Linked DNA regions of Homo sapiens: region 1 is linked to region 2. Evidence: promoter capture Hi-C in human tissues and cell types (Jung and others, 2019). All regions are on one chromosome and are shown on one strand. The core of a region is centred on a gene start or on the middle of the fragment in contact, and the rest is flanking DNA. Distances in the headings are between cores, read along the strand shown.

Region 1 (6,158 bases), core at 2,011-4,510, 150 kb after region 2:
CAAATTATAGAGAGGTGGTCATGGGAACTCCTGATTTATAGCTTGTTGGTCAGAAGTACAGGAGGCCCAGAACTTGCAATTGGTGCCTGGGTGGGAGCGGTCTTGCCAGACTGAGCCCTTAACCTGTGGGGACAGATGCTAACTCCCAGTAGTTAGTGTCAGACTTGAATGGAATCATTGGACACCTAGTTGATATCTGGAGAGTTGGAGAACTGGTTATTGTGGTATGGAAAAAACCCCGACACATTTGGTGTGAGAGGTGTTGCACTGTAAAATAGTTCAGCCCTGCCAACAACCACATGAGCTTGGAAGTGGATTCTTCCCCATTTGGTCCTTCAGATGAGACCCTGACCTTGGCTGACATCTCAATTGCAGCTTTGCACAGGACTCAGGTAAGCTATGCCCAGACTCCAGACCCACAGAAACTGTGAGATAATAAATGTGTTTAATTAAATTAAATTAATTAATTAATTAATTTTTATTTTTTTGAGACAGAGTTTCACTTTGTTGCCCAGGCTGGAGTGCAGTGGCACAATCTCGGCTCACTGCAACCTCCGCCTTTTGGGTTCAAGCGATTCTCATCCCTCAGCCTCCTGAGAAGCTGGGATTCCCGGTGCGTAACACTGCGCCTGGTTAATTTTTTGTATTTTAGTAGAGATGGGGTTTCATCATGTTGGCCAGGCTGGTCTCGAACTCCTGACTTCAAGTGATCTGCCCACCTTGGCCTCCCAAAATGCTGGGATTACAAGTGTGAGTCACCATGCCTGGCCATAAACGTGTTTTAAAAGCACTAAATTGGCTGGGCATGGTGGCTCCCACCTATAATCCCAGCACTTTGGGAGGCCAAGGCAGGCAGATCAGTGAAGGTCAAGAGGTCAAGACCATCCTGGCCAACATGGTAAAACCCCATCTCTACTAAAAATATAAAAATTAGCCACATATGGTGGTGCACACCTGTAATCCCAACTACATGGGAGGCTGAGGCATAAGAATTGCTTAAACCCGGGAGGTTGCAGTGAGCTAAGATTGTGCCACTGCACTACAGCCTGGACCACAAAGCAAGACTGTCTCAAAAACAAACAAACAAACCAAATAGAGCACTAAGTTAATGGTAATATTGTTATTCAGCAACAGAGAACTCATACATTTGAGAGTGCATTAGAGCAAAACCACAGTGGGCTGGCAGAGCTATAAACTCCTCACACCAGCCAATGTGGCATCATGGGGATACTGTTAGTGAAGTGGTTTTACTAAACAACAACAGCAGCTTACGATTATTGAATGCTTGCCACGGTCCTTGCTCTATGCCAAGCCCTTTACATGTTTTATTTCATTTAGTCTTTGACATAACCCTATGAACAACAACTATTACCCCACTTGTCACTTGGGAGGGCAAAGGGTTTTGATTTTGAGATGACCTCCTCATCAGCAAGGGACTTGGCCAACTCCCCTTTGACCTGTCTAAAGACAAACACATTTCATCACTGCAAATGCTAGCTTTTTTTGTTTAATAAACATTTTATCCTGAAAAACATTTAGAGTTACAGAAAAGTTGTAAAGATAGTACAGAGAGTTCTTGTATACCTTTCACTCCATTCCTCTTAATGTGAGCATCTTGCTTTACCATGGAACATTTCTCAAAACTAAGACATCATCGTCGGTACATTACTCTTAACTAAACTATAGATTATTCAGGTTTCACCCGTTTTTCGATGAATGCCCTTTTGCCATTCCAGGATTCAATTCAGGATCCCACGTTGCATTTAGCAAGCATGGATTTTTTCTTCCCCAGACCCAAGCCAGTCTGGTCTCACACGACGAGTGCGTGGCCCTCTGTTGCCATGTGTTGACCCTAATCCTTGCAAAAGAACAACTCTGGCATCACCGAATTAAGGGCATGTTTGCTTTTTTCCTGAGCAAGGAAAGAATGTCCCACATTGGCTAAGAATGCCTTGGTCTGAACCATTTGGGAGGTTGACTGACGTCAACCCTCCAATAATTTTGCTCTGGTACCCACATTTTTGAAATTTCTGAAACAGAGGGAGGAGATGCCAGGTCATCACTCAACACACACTGTCTCACAGTTCCGGAGGCTGGAAGTCCAAGGTCAAGGTGTCAGCATGGTCGGTTCCTTCTGAGGACTGTGAGGGAGAATCTTCCAGACTCTCTCCTAGAGAGAGAAGGAGGGTCCCCTGGAGGTCATCTAGCTCCTCTCATCCCTTCTTCCCACCAAACATTGACTGAGTATCTCAGCATCTCCGTTGTCAGTTATAGGACTCCCCTAGTCAAAAAAGACAAAAGGCACCCAAGCTGATCTAGAGGAAAAATAAAGGGAGACCTTTTAGGGGACTCAGTTCACATCAAAGTCCAAGTGAGGGAGAACTTTCCAGGCTCTGATGGTTTCCTGGCAATGTTTGGCATTTCCTGGATTGTAGAAGCACCACCCCCATCTCTGTCTTTATTTTCACATGGCATTCTCCACATGTGCATGTCTCTGTGCCCAAAATCTCCCCGATTTATAAGGACACCAGTCACATTGGATTAGCCACCCTATTCCAGGATGACCTCATCTTAACTAAGTACATCTGCAACAACCTTATTCCTAGATTAGGAAATTCTGAGGTGCTGAGGGTTAAGACTTCAACATATGAATTTGGGTGTGGTGGGGAAACACAACGGAACACATGATACTATCTGTGGTTTCTCCCTGTGGCTTGGGCTTCCCACAGCAGGTGGCTGGGCCCCTAGAGGGAGCACCCCAGGGCGGGTGTCCCGAGAAGGACAGTTGGGGCTGCAAGGCTTCTGACCTCCCCTCCGAAATCACACAGCATCATTTCTGCTGTGTTCTGTTGGTTAAAAGTGAGTCACGGAGCCTGTGCAGGTCCAGGGGAGGGGCCCCACAAGGGTGTGAATTCTGGGAGGTGTGCTGGGAGCTGGCTTTGGAACCAGTTACCCCAGGTTCACGGCAGGCTAACATCCCGAATCCCAGATTAAAGCATGTTCTGTTCCCTGAGTTTTGTCCCTCTGGTTAGCTCCCAGGGGTAGTTGCTCAATAAACTGTTGTGGCCTGGAATTTTATCGTGAAGGGATCTGTTCCATCAGCAGGAAAGTGCCAGGCCCCACTGCTTCTCCAGTGTGCTCCCTGCCTCTTTTCCTTGGGAACCCAAGGCTGGCAGGGGCCAAGTCCTAGGACCGGAAGGACCCGAAGCTGGAACACAATGGGCTGCTTTTTCCTGCCCACACACCTGGGCCTGGCACTCAGGGGGAAAATTGCCCCAGGCAGGCGGTCTTGCCAGACTTAGAAAGAAGGAGACCGAACTTGAAATGTTTTCTAAATCCTCCAAATGGAGCTTCTGCAGCACCGGCACCAGCTTCCCCCATCCCCACCCCGGGAGAGAGGAAAAGCAGGGAGAGGAAGAGAAGGAGTAGGTTTCCAGTCTGTTTATATTTCAGGCTATTTTGAAACCCCCTGAAGGCACTCACACACAGGGGCACATTTAAATGCACCAGGAAGTGCTCCCGGAATGGAAACTGGAGTCGGCGGAACTCTGGGGCACTGCACTGCCTGCTCTGTTCTGCTGTCCTTCAAACAACCAACAATTCAGCCCCTTCAATGCCCAACTCAAAGCCTCTCTCACCGGAAGGGCTTCTGGAGGTCATCTAGCTCCTCCCATACCCCCTTCTCACCAAACATTTACTGAGCTTCTCAGCATCTTCATTGTCAGTTACAGGACTCTTTGGTCCACAAGGAATAGAGGAAAGGCACCCAAGTTGATCTAGATGAAAACTAAAGGGGGATTTTTTAAGGGGCTTAATTTACATCAAAATCCAAGGAGAGTTTGGCTTCAGGTATGGTTGAATCCAGCTGTTCCAACCATATCATCAAAGATGGGTCTCTGAACATCCCTCAGCTCTGCTCCCTCCATGGTAGCCTCATTCTCAGTATTATAAGGAGGCAAGGTGCCTGCCAGCAGCCCCAGACCCTTATCAAGTCCCTCAGAAGACCTTGGGATGTGAGTTCCCATTGGCCAGGATTAGTCACATGCACTGCTATCCTTACCAGCTGGGAGTGGAGTCAACTCCACCCGAAGCTCAGAGGTCCCTCTCCCACCCAACCCTTATACCCAGACACCAGGCAGCAAGAAAACATGGTACCCATGCTCTCTGCTTATACCCCTCTAGTGATGGAGGACTCTTCAGCCTAGGGGCATCCCTGTCCTCTGATAATTTTATTCAGATTTCTATAATATTTCTTACCATACTTCAGTGCAATTTATTTGTTTGCCTATACCCCTTATTGTACTCCTTGGTTTCTGTGTCTTCAGCACAAGGCCCCCACAGAACAGGTGCTCAACAGACGTTTATCAAATGAAGGATTAATATCTTCCATTACTAAGCACATATGCTGTGCCAGGTGTTTGATGCATATTATCTCATTTGATCCTCGTGACCACTCTCTTAGCTAAAGAGCATCGTCCTGTTTTTATATGTGAAGAAACAGGTTCAGACAGGTTAAGAAGTCACCTTACCAAGGTCATCCAAGAAGAAGGCAGTGGAGCCAGGATTTAAGCCCAGATATTTTTGACTTTAACTTGATATGGAGGTGGGAGAAGCTGGGAAAGAAGGGAAGAGGACAGGAAAGAAGAAGAAGAGCCGAGAGGGTAGTGGAGGAAAAGAGAGGACAGAGGAAGAGGAATGGGAGGAAGCTTTGAATGTTAAAATTTCTTCCTCTGATGGCTATTATTATTATTTTTTTAAAGACACCGTCTTGTTATATTTCCCAGGTTGGATTAGAACTCTTGCTCAAACTCCTGAAGTTTGAGTGGTCCTTCTGCCTTCTGCCACAGCTACTGAGCTGGGAACACAGGTGCACACCACTGCGCCCAGCTGGATGGTTGTTCTTTCTTTCTTTATTTTTTTTTGAGATGGAGTCTTACTCTGTTCACCCAGACTGGAGTGCACTGGCCCGATCTCGGCTCTCTGCAACCTCCACCTCCTGGGTTCAAGTGATTCTCCTGCCTCAGCCAAACCAGTAGCTGGGATTACAGGTACATGTCACCACACCCGGCTAATTTTTTTTTTTTTTTTTAAGTAGAGATGTAGTTTTACCATGTTGGCCAGGCTGGTCTCAAACTCCTGGCCTCAGGTAATCCACTCGCCTTGGCCTCCCAAAGTGCTGGGATTATAAGTGTGAGTCACTGCGCTCGGCCTGGATGGTTATTCTTAATTTGCTTTTTGGTCACTGACTCCTTAAAGAATCTGATCCAAGTTAGCACATTTTGGTGTGGCAATGCACCAAAGTACCGCATGCATGAGACTATTAAATTGAAGTAAATGTCATCCATATACTGACATAGCACATTAAGAGTATTAAGTTCAGTAAATGAAGAAAAAAGATGATATAATTTTATTTGGGGTACAGTTTGAAAATAATTTCAGCTTGGGAATTTCGTGGTGGGGTAAACTGCTTATCTTTTCAGTACTGTTTTTGTTTAAAAGCCTCAAATCATTTTGTGCAACACTTGCAGAGAATTAAAAAAAAAAAAGACTCAAATCTCTGGGTCACCAGAGTCCCTCATTTTAATAAATGATTTTCTGTTATGCTTGATAATGGCATTAATAGAATAAGAAGGGAGAAATAGAAGACCAAAACTGGTGACCAAGGATTACACCTGGCTGGTCTACAGTGTCCCCAGTTCATGTCATTATCATTGGATTTGCTTTTTAAATTCAGAATAGGTGTTGGGTTGGAGGGTGGGCTCTTTGTCTTCATTGCTGTGATGTTTGGAAAATAAAACAACTGTGGAAAATAGGATGGAGGCCAACAACCTCCTAGTACCAAAACCTGGCAGAGATACAACAGGAAAAGAAAACTTCAGGCCAATATCTGTGATGAACATCAGTGCAAAAATCCTCACCAAAATACTGGCAAACTGAATCCCACAGCACATCAAAAAGCTCATCAACCACGATCAAGTAGGTTTTATCCCTGGGATGCAAGGTTGGTTCAACATATGCCAATCAATAAATGTGATTCCTTACATAAACAGAGCTAAAGACAAAACCACATGATAATCTCAGTAGATGCAGAAAAGGCTTTTGATCAAATTCAACATCCATTCATGTTAAAAACTCTCAATAAACTAAGTATTAAAGAA
Region 2 (6,484 bases), core at 2,335-4,834:
CCCCCTCCCCTCACCCGTGGGATTCTGCTAGAACCCCGCTACCCCACTACTTTCCTCAGAAATCCACAGTCCTGAAACCTTAGCTTATTTATTCCCTAACCCTCCCCAGCACTTCCATTTGGGGTTCAGAACGATCTGCTGAGGACTGTGGCCCCAAGGGAGGAAGGGGACACCCAATATGTGGCCCAGAGCTGGGACTGGAACCCAGGTATCCTGACTCCCGGTACAGCCTCAGTGCAGGGAAGAGGGGACATTAGAAACATTTCTGAGCTCAGGTCCGTGGCAGGGCAGCCTCCTTAAGGGCAGAGTCCCAGCCTTCCCCCAGGGACTCTTCATCCATCGGGCCCTCCCTCAGTGGTGGGAGCCGTCACAAGCTGTCAGCGGGCTCCTCCGGGTGCCAGACGAGAGTCTAATCAACAGCTCCCAGCTTCTCTGGGCCTGCCCAGGCCTCAGGCTGCCCTCCCAGCTCCAGGCTCCATCCTGCCCAACAGCTGCACGCGGCGGGACACCTGGCCTCCCCACCAGGCCACCTGCCCTTCTGAGACAACAGATAGTCCTGGCTCTCGCCACTGGCCAGCAGACCCACCCTGGACTCCAGGGTATTGGGAGGCGAGCGGAACCTAGACCTTGCTCCTTGGCAGGTGCTGTCAGCTATCCTCTCGGGGCCAGGCCTCCTCATACCTCACACTTGAAAAGACACAGTGCCAGCCATCATGCCTGCATGGACACCTGCCTCCCCGAAGCTTTTCCTTCTAGAGGCAGCTTTTCAGTCGGACACCTCTGGCATTTACCAGCTGGGTGACTTGGGCAGTTACCTCTGCGATCCCCAATCTTCTCATCTGTAACGGGATTGAAACGTTGTTGGGATTTAGATCATGCTGTGGGAGTCATCATAATAATTATTATTGTCATGATCATACAGTCTTCAGACCAAGTCCCCCTCTGTGCCTGCTCGGGCTCACACTCAGCTCTTTCCTCTGACAGCCATAGAGCATGTGCCCTGTTCCACCCAGTCGTGGTTTTATCATGTCTTTCTACCTAGACTCCAGGCTTGTGGGAGGCCAGGCTGTGACATCCATTTCCCCCAGAGCTGCCATTCCTGGCCAGCTGATTGTTCGACAGAGGTTGATAAATATTGGACCAACCTTGGTATGTGCCCAGTGTCTTCTCCTTCATAGCCTCTCTGGTTTGGGAGGGTCCTGGGAAGCCTCTTGTTCCTCTTGCCTTGGGTGGAGCAGAGAGACCCTTGGCTTGAAGCCGGGGGTGGAGCAGGAGTGAGCTGGGTCATCCAGAGACCTGCTTCGTGGCAACCTGAACCATCACCGTTGCAGAGAACAGGTTTGCCAACCTCTCTTCTCCTAGGCTGCCCCTCCTCACCCCACCCCCAACAGCACAGGCAGGAGAACTGAGTTGTTGGAATTCCCCACAGTTTGCATGATCCAAAGCCGAGGCTGCCTTCCTGGCTGGGATTCTGGGGGTGGACATGGGTGAAGGTGAGTGGTGATGCCACCGGGCCATGCTGGCTCCACTTTGGGACAGCTTCAGGGAAGGGGGTATAGGGTCACTGCCTGGGAGTCAGAACACCTGGGTTCAGTTCTCAGCTCTGAGTTTGGGCAAGTAGCTTCCACTCCCTAGGCCTCAGTTTCCTCATCTGAGTCAAAGATGAGATGTTCCTGAAGGACTTTCCACTGCAGATGTCGCTGTCTTCCATGTAGGCCTGGGCCAGACGCTTGGACTGCCACTTTTTTTTCTTTGTTTTTTGTTTGTTTGTTTGTTTTTTGTGGCTTTGGCGGTGCTGGGCAGGTGAGACACAGTTCTTGCTCCTTCTGATGCTCAGATCTGTTTTGGAGGCCCCCGCTCTGAACCCATGCATTCAAGAACCAGCTCCAGGGACACCCAGGGTCCTCCAAGTCCAAATCAGCTCCCTCCCCAGCTCTGTGACCCAGGCTCCATTCAGGGGGTGGCCTGCAGGGGGGCAGTGGGAGAAGGTGGTGGTGCCTTGCTTTCTGTACACTCTGCCACTGCTCCTGAAGTGTTAATCAAATTAAGGCTCCAAGAAAAACAAAAGCTCCGCAGCCACTTCGGGCTGCCTTGGAGTCGTTTGCTCTCGGAACAGCTGGGAGAATTCCACATCACCTCCGTCCCCCAAGCCCTGGGTGGCTCTGACCCCAACGAACACACTCCTTCCAGCCTGGAGGGCTCTGGCTGGCCACAATGACCTCATAGCAACAGCCATTGGACACTCGGGGCAATTTCATGGGAGATATTTGTTCTTTGGTCTTGATGCAGAGAGAATTTTTTCCTCTCTCCCTGTCTCCATGGAAACCCCAGCTACACTGTTGGCGATCCCCCTTCCCACCCCATGCTTTTCAGATCAATATTGGAGCTTGGCTCCCCACTGGCTGCCCACAGCGGATGGTGGCAGAGCTCTGGGCAGGAGGAACTGGGGCCAGGGTTAAGCGCGGGGCATGGGGAACTGTCCCTGAGCGGGGATGAAAGGAGCGCGGGTCCGCTTGCTCCCTGTCCACCCACTCACTGGAGCTCATCCCTTTAGTCTCCCTCCCTGCAGCAAACCTTCCGCCCCTACCCAGGGAGCGCCCTGAGCGCAGATCCAGTCAAGGAGAAACAGACAGGTCACCAGCGGTTACCACCCCTTCCTCCTTAGGCTAGACACGGGGAGCTGGGGGGCCGTTGTCTTCTTTAAGGTCTGGACGGAGTTTCTTCCTGCCCCGGGGAAAAACCAAGGCCCGGCCAGCGCCAGCGCCAGCCCCGGGCCCTGGGAGACCAGGCGTCCTGGTCCCTTCCTTCTGTCTCCGGCTCCCGCCCCCCAAGCAGAAACAGGTCCCTGCACGCCTCCAGCCCAGCCCGCAGCGCGGCGCAGCTCGGCGCAGCTCGGCGCTGGGAGCTCGCTCCGGACTTCTCGGGATTAACCTGCTATTATGTCCCGGAGCCCTTCCCTGCAATGGGCTTCCTCAGCGACCTGTCAGCCCGGCTGGACTGCAACCCGCGTCCGGCGCCCCTCCCGGGCCACCGCCCCGCGCTCGCACCCCTGGCGCCCTCGAGAGCCCCGAGCCGCCTACCGGTGCGGACGCCGCCACAGCCACCCCTGACGCCTCTGGGCAGGGAGCCGGACCCGGGCAGGAGGGGACCCCGGGTGTGCAGAGGGACGTTCGGGCCGTGGCGGCGGCAGCGGAGCGAGCGAGCCTCCGGTCCCGCGGCCGAGACACCTGCCGGGCTGCCCCGCGCCCGCTGCCCCGCGCCGCCTGGCACCGGCCGCTGCCCCCGGGGCCTGCCCCGCCCCGCCCCGCCCCGCTCGGCCCCGGCCAGACTTACAGCCAGTTGCTCGCGGCGGCTGAGAAGACGGCGAAGACGAGGAGGCGCAGCGAACGCAGGCACGAGCGGGGACTCATGGTGCCGCCGCGGGCGCCCGGCCCGGGGCAGCGGCTGCGGCCGCGGGGGGCCTCCCGTCGGGGCTGCAGGTGGGCGCCCGCGGGCGGGCCGGGGCGCGCGCGGCGGGGCTCTGCCTCCGTGTGCCTGCCGGCAGCCTGCCCGCTGCTGCGCCCGCTGCCCGGCGCGGACCAGACTGTCAGCGCCGCCCCAGAGCCGGGATGCGGCGGCGGCGGCGGCGGCGGCGGCGGCGGAGGCGGGCGGGCGGGCGGGCGGCCGGGGGGGCGGGCCGGGGGCGGGCCGAGGATGGGGTTACCTGGGCGGGCCCAGCGGCCCGGGACACCCCCCCGGGGGCGGGCCGGAGCGGCGGCGGCTGCCGCCTTAGCCCGCGGGACTGGGCTGCTCCCGGGGCCTCCCCGGCTGGGCGCTCCGGAGGACTTGGGGCCCGAGCCCGCTCCAGGCACGCCTGGCTGCGCGCCGCCGAGCCCGGCCCGGCTAGAGGCGCGGCGACCCAGCTGCCCGGCCGCCGCCCGGGCCTAGGGGACAGGCGGGCACAGCTCCCCCAACCCGCCGCTGCGGGCACTGCAGCGCGGCCCTCGCTGTCCCCCTACCCCCCCCACCGCCCCCCGCCGGCGCCTGGAGCCCAGACCCCGGTCCGACCGCGGCGGACCCACCGGAGCGCGGCTACCACTCGCGCGCACCCAGGCGCTGGCGCTCCGGGTGCCTGGGGCTGCACATCGGGGCGCTGGATGTCTCCCGACCGCCCCCCGCCCGGCCCCTCCCTGCCTCCTGGCCCCCGCGTCCTGCGGCCCAGCCCCTCCCTGGCGCTCACCTCCCTACAGCCTTCCGGGAGCTGGACGGGGCCTCCCCAGCTTTGGGCAGCTTGGGACAGTGGCCCGAGACTGTGGGAATCCGAAACCTCGCTTCTGGCTAGCCACAAGGTCTGGGCGCGCCCCAGGCAGCAGGGTCTTGACTCTGAGCCTCCGTTTTCTCATCCGGGAAGTGGGCTTAAGACGCTGTGATTGGGAGGACAGGAGGAGTTTAGGGAAGCTCTCTTGGCTCACTCACCAAGTCTTACTTTGCATTTGGTTTTCTATGTGCTTGTTCGATTTATCCTCCCATACTAGGCAGATTCAGCCTCTTGTTTGTTTTGGGCACAGGGCGGTGCCTGCCATGTTTGTGGAAGGAATAAATGAATGGAATGGAATGGGCTGCAACAGCCTGTGCTTGGCTAGTCCAGAGAGCTCAATTCCACATCACTGTAACCCCTAAGAATTGTCTGCCCAAGTCCACGCCACACCCTCTCAGGTCACTGATCTGATTCTGTGTGCTACTCATCCTCCAGGCTGCATCCCCCAGCTGCTCACAGGTAGAGGGACCTCTTATCTAAACAGTAAAACTAAGGCCCGGAAAGGGAGGCACCTGTCCCACCTCCCTAGGGGTTGGGAACAGAGGCAAGGACCAGGTCTATGCCCTCACCCCCTGATCTTAGTTCTTCACTGATTTTGGAGTATGAAGTTTGCTCCCACAGAGGCCATCATGTTTGGGTGCTGGGATGGTGCCCTGGGGTCCCCTGGGCTCAGAACAGAGGAAGGGCTCAGTAAACATTTGGTATTGGGACTGGGTGGAACGTGGCAGGGATTTGTGGGGCTGGGCAAGAGTATAGATGGAGGTTCACATACCATATGTCCAAATATTTGCAGGCTATAAATCAAGCTAACAAAATGCAAAATAAATTATGTTCTATTCTTCTATCTTGACAAATACACTTTCCTAACAAGGCAGAAAGCTGGCTTTGAGTGTGGCATTCTCATACTCCTCAGACCTTGCCCTGGAGCTGGTGGCACAGGGAGAGGGGGCCCCTAGTGCCTGGCCTGGGCCCCTGCCCCCTACCTTTTCCTACCTCTGCCTCTGTCCTGTCCTTCGAGAGTCTTGTGCACATTCATGAACATCTCAGCCTGCACATGCAAGCTCAGCCCCTTGGTAGCCCCTCAGGCTTAGGGCTGGGCACGCCAGTGGTGTACTCTGTCCTCGGGCTGGATCTGCGGAAGAGACCCACGCAGGTCCTGGCAGTGGGCTAAGGGCCATCTCTGCAGGGAACCCCAGGGGCCTGGGCACCCAGAGTATGCTCTAGTGGAGGTGCCACAAGTTCCAGGTGGGCATGTCCCCTTGTCCCATGGTCTTCCCTCCTTGTGATGAGAGGTTAGCTGGAGGAGGGCCAGACTGGGGGGGTCCCCAGGGCAGGGGCCACTCTCACCTGTGTTTAAGGGTGGTACTGAAGTGCTGACCTATTTTGAACCAGCATATTCACTTCCTGGAGACTCAGTATGGTATGGTGGAAAATAATAATAACAACGATAATAATTTAGATGGCAACAGGTAATTATGTTAGGATGGCCATATAATTTTCTTCCAAACCAGGATGTTTTCAAGAGTGACGGGGGGCTCTAACTGGAAGATTTGCCAGGCTACCAGGCATAGACCAAGACTGTGCCAGGCCACCTAGGATGCACTGTGCCACTCAAATGTTGTGCCCTGGTATGTCAGGCACTGTTCTTAGTGCTTTACACGCTTTGACTCATTCAATCGTTGCAACAAATCTAGGAAGTACGTACTGTTATCACCCTCATTTTACAGATGAAGACACCAGGTTACTTGCTTAAGGAAAGTGGTGGACCTGGGACTCCAGAGCCACATCCCCGGCTCCCATACCATCCTGAGCCTGGGACTCAGGTGTTTGGGCTTAAGCCCCTGTCCCAAAGCACATGACACTTGACCTTTGGGAAGCTGCAGGACCTTCAGTTTCTGTATCCATCAGGTGGGAACAATGTTACCTGGCTTGCCTTCTCCTGGGGTGCTGGGAGATGCATATGAGTGGGTGTGTGTGAGCCCCACGAGCAGGATCAAGCTGAGCCCAGGAGGGAGAGAACTGGAGCCATCAGAAAGTGTCTCCCTGAGCTGTGCTGTGATAATGGAGAGGAGGAGCCCTTTGCTCTGAGTCAGTGGAAATTCTTTTTTTTTTTTTTTTTTTTTTTTTTGAGACGGAGTCTCCCTCTGTCGCCCAGGCTGGAGTGCAGTGGTGTGATCTCGGCTCACT

Evidence for each region. Contacts are between HindIII fragments. The study calls those that stand out against the background at their distance.
Region 1: a contact is called between a fragment that was not itself captured here and the fragment with the promoter of WNT4 in region 2, in 1 of the 25 tissues and cell types used here (IMR-90 fibroblasts).

The regions. Positions count from the first base shown.
Region 1 is chr1:22,294,176-22,300,333 of GRCh38, forward strand. No RefSeq gene overlaps it. Among named protein-coding and RNA genes, the nearest start is that of MIR4418, 31 kb to the left of the region's middle. RefSeq lists an enhancer at 3,117-3,616. The HindIII fragment of the contact is 4,636 bases long and covers 943-5,578 here.
Region 2 is chr1:22,139,513-22,145,996 of GRCh38, forward strand. WNT4 (Wnt family member 4) reads right to left here and starts at 3,585. Exons shown (of 5, transcript NM_030761.5): 1 at 3,334-3,585. The coding sequence starts at 3,410. It overlaps LOC105376845 (a long non-coding RNA gene), which reads left to right and starts at 1,441. Exons shown (of 5, transcript XR_947050.1): 1 at 1,441-1,493. RefSeq lists silencers at 3,053-3,112, 3,675-4,004. The HindIII fragment of the contact is 15,863 bases long and covers 1-6,484 here.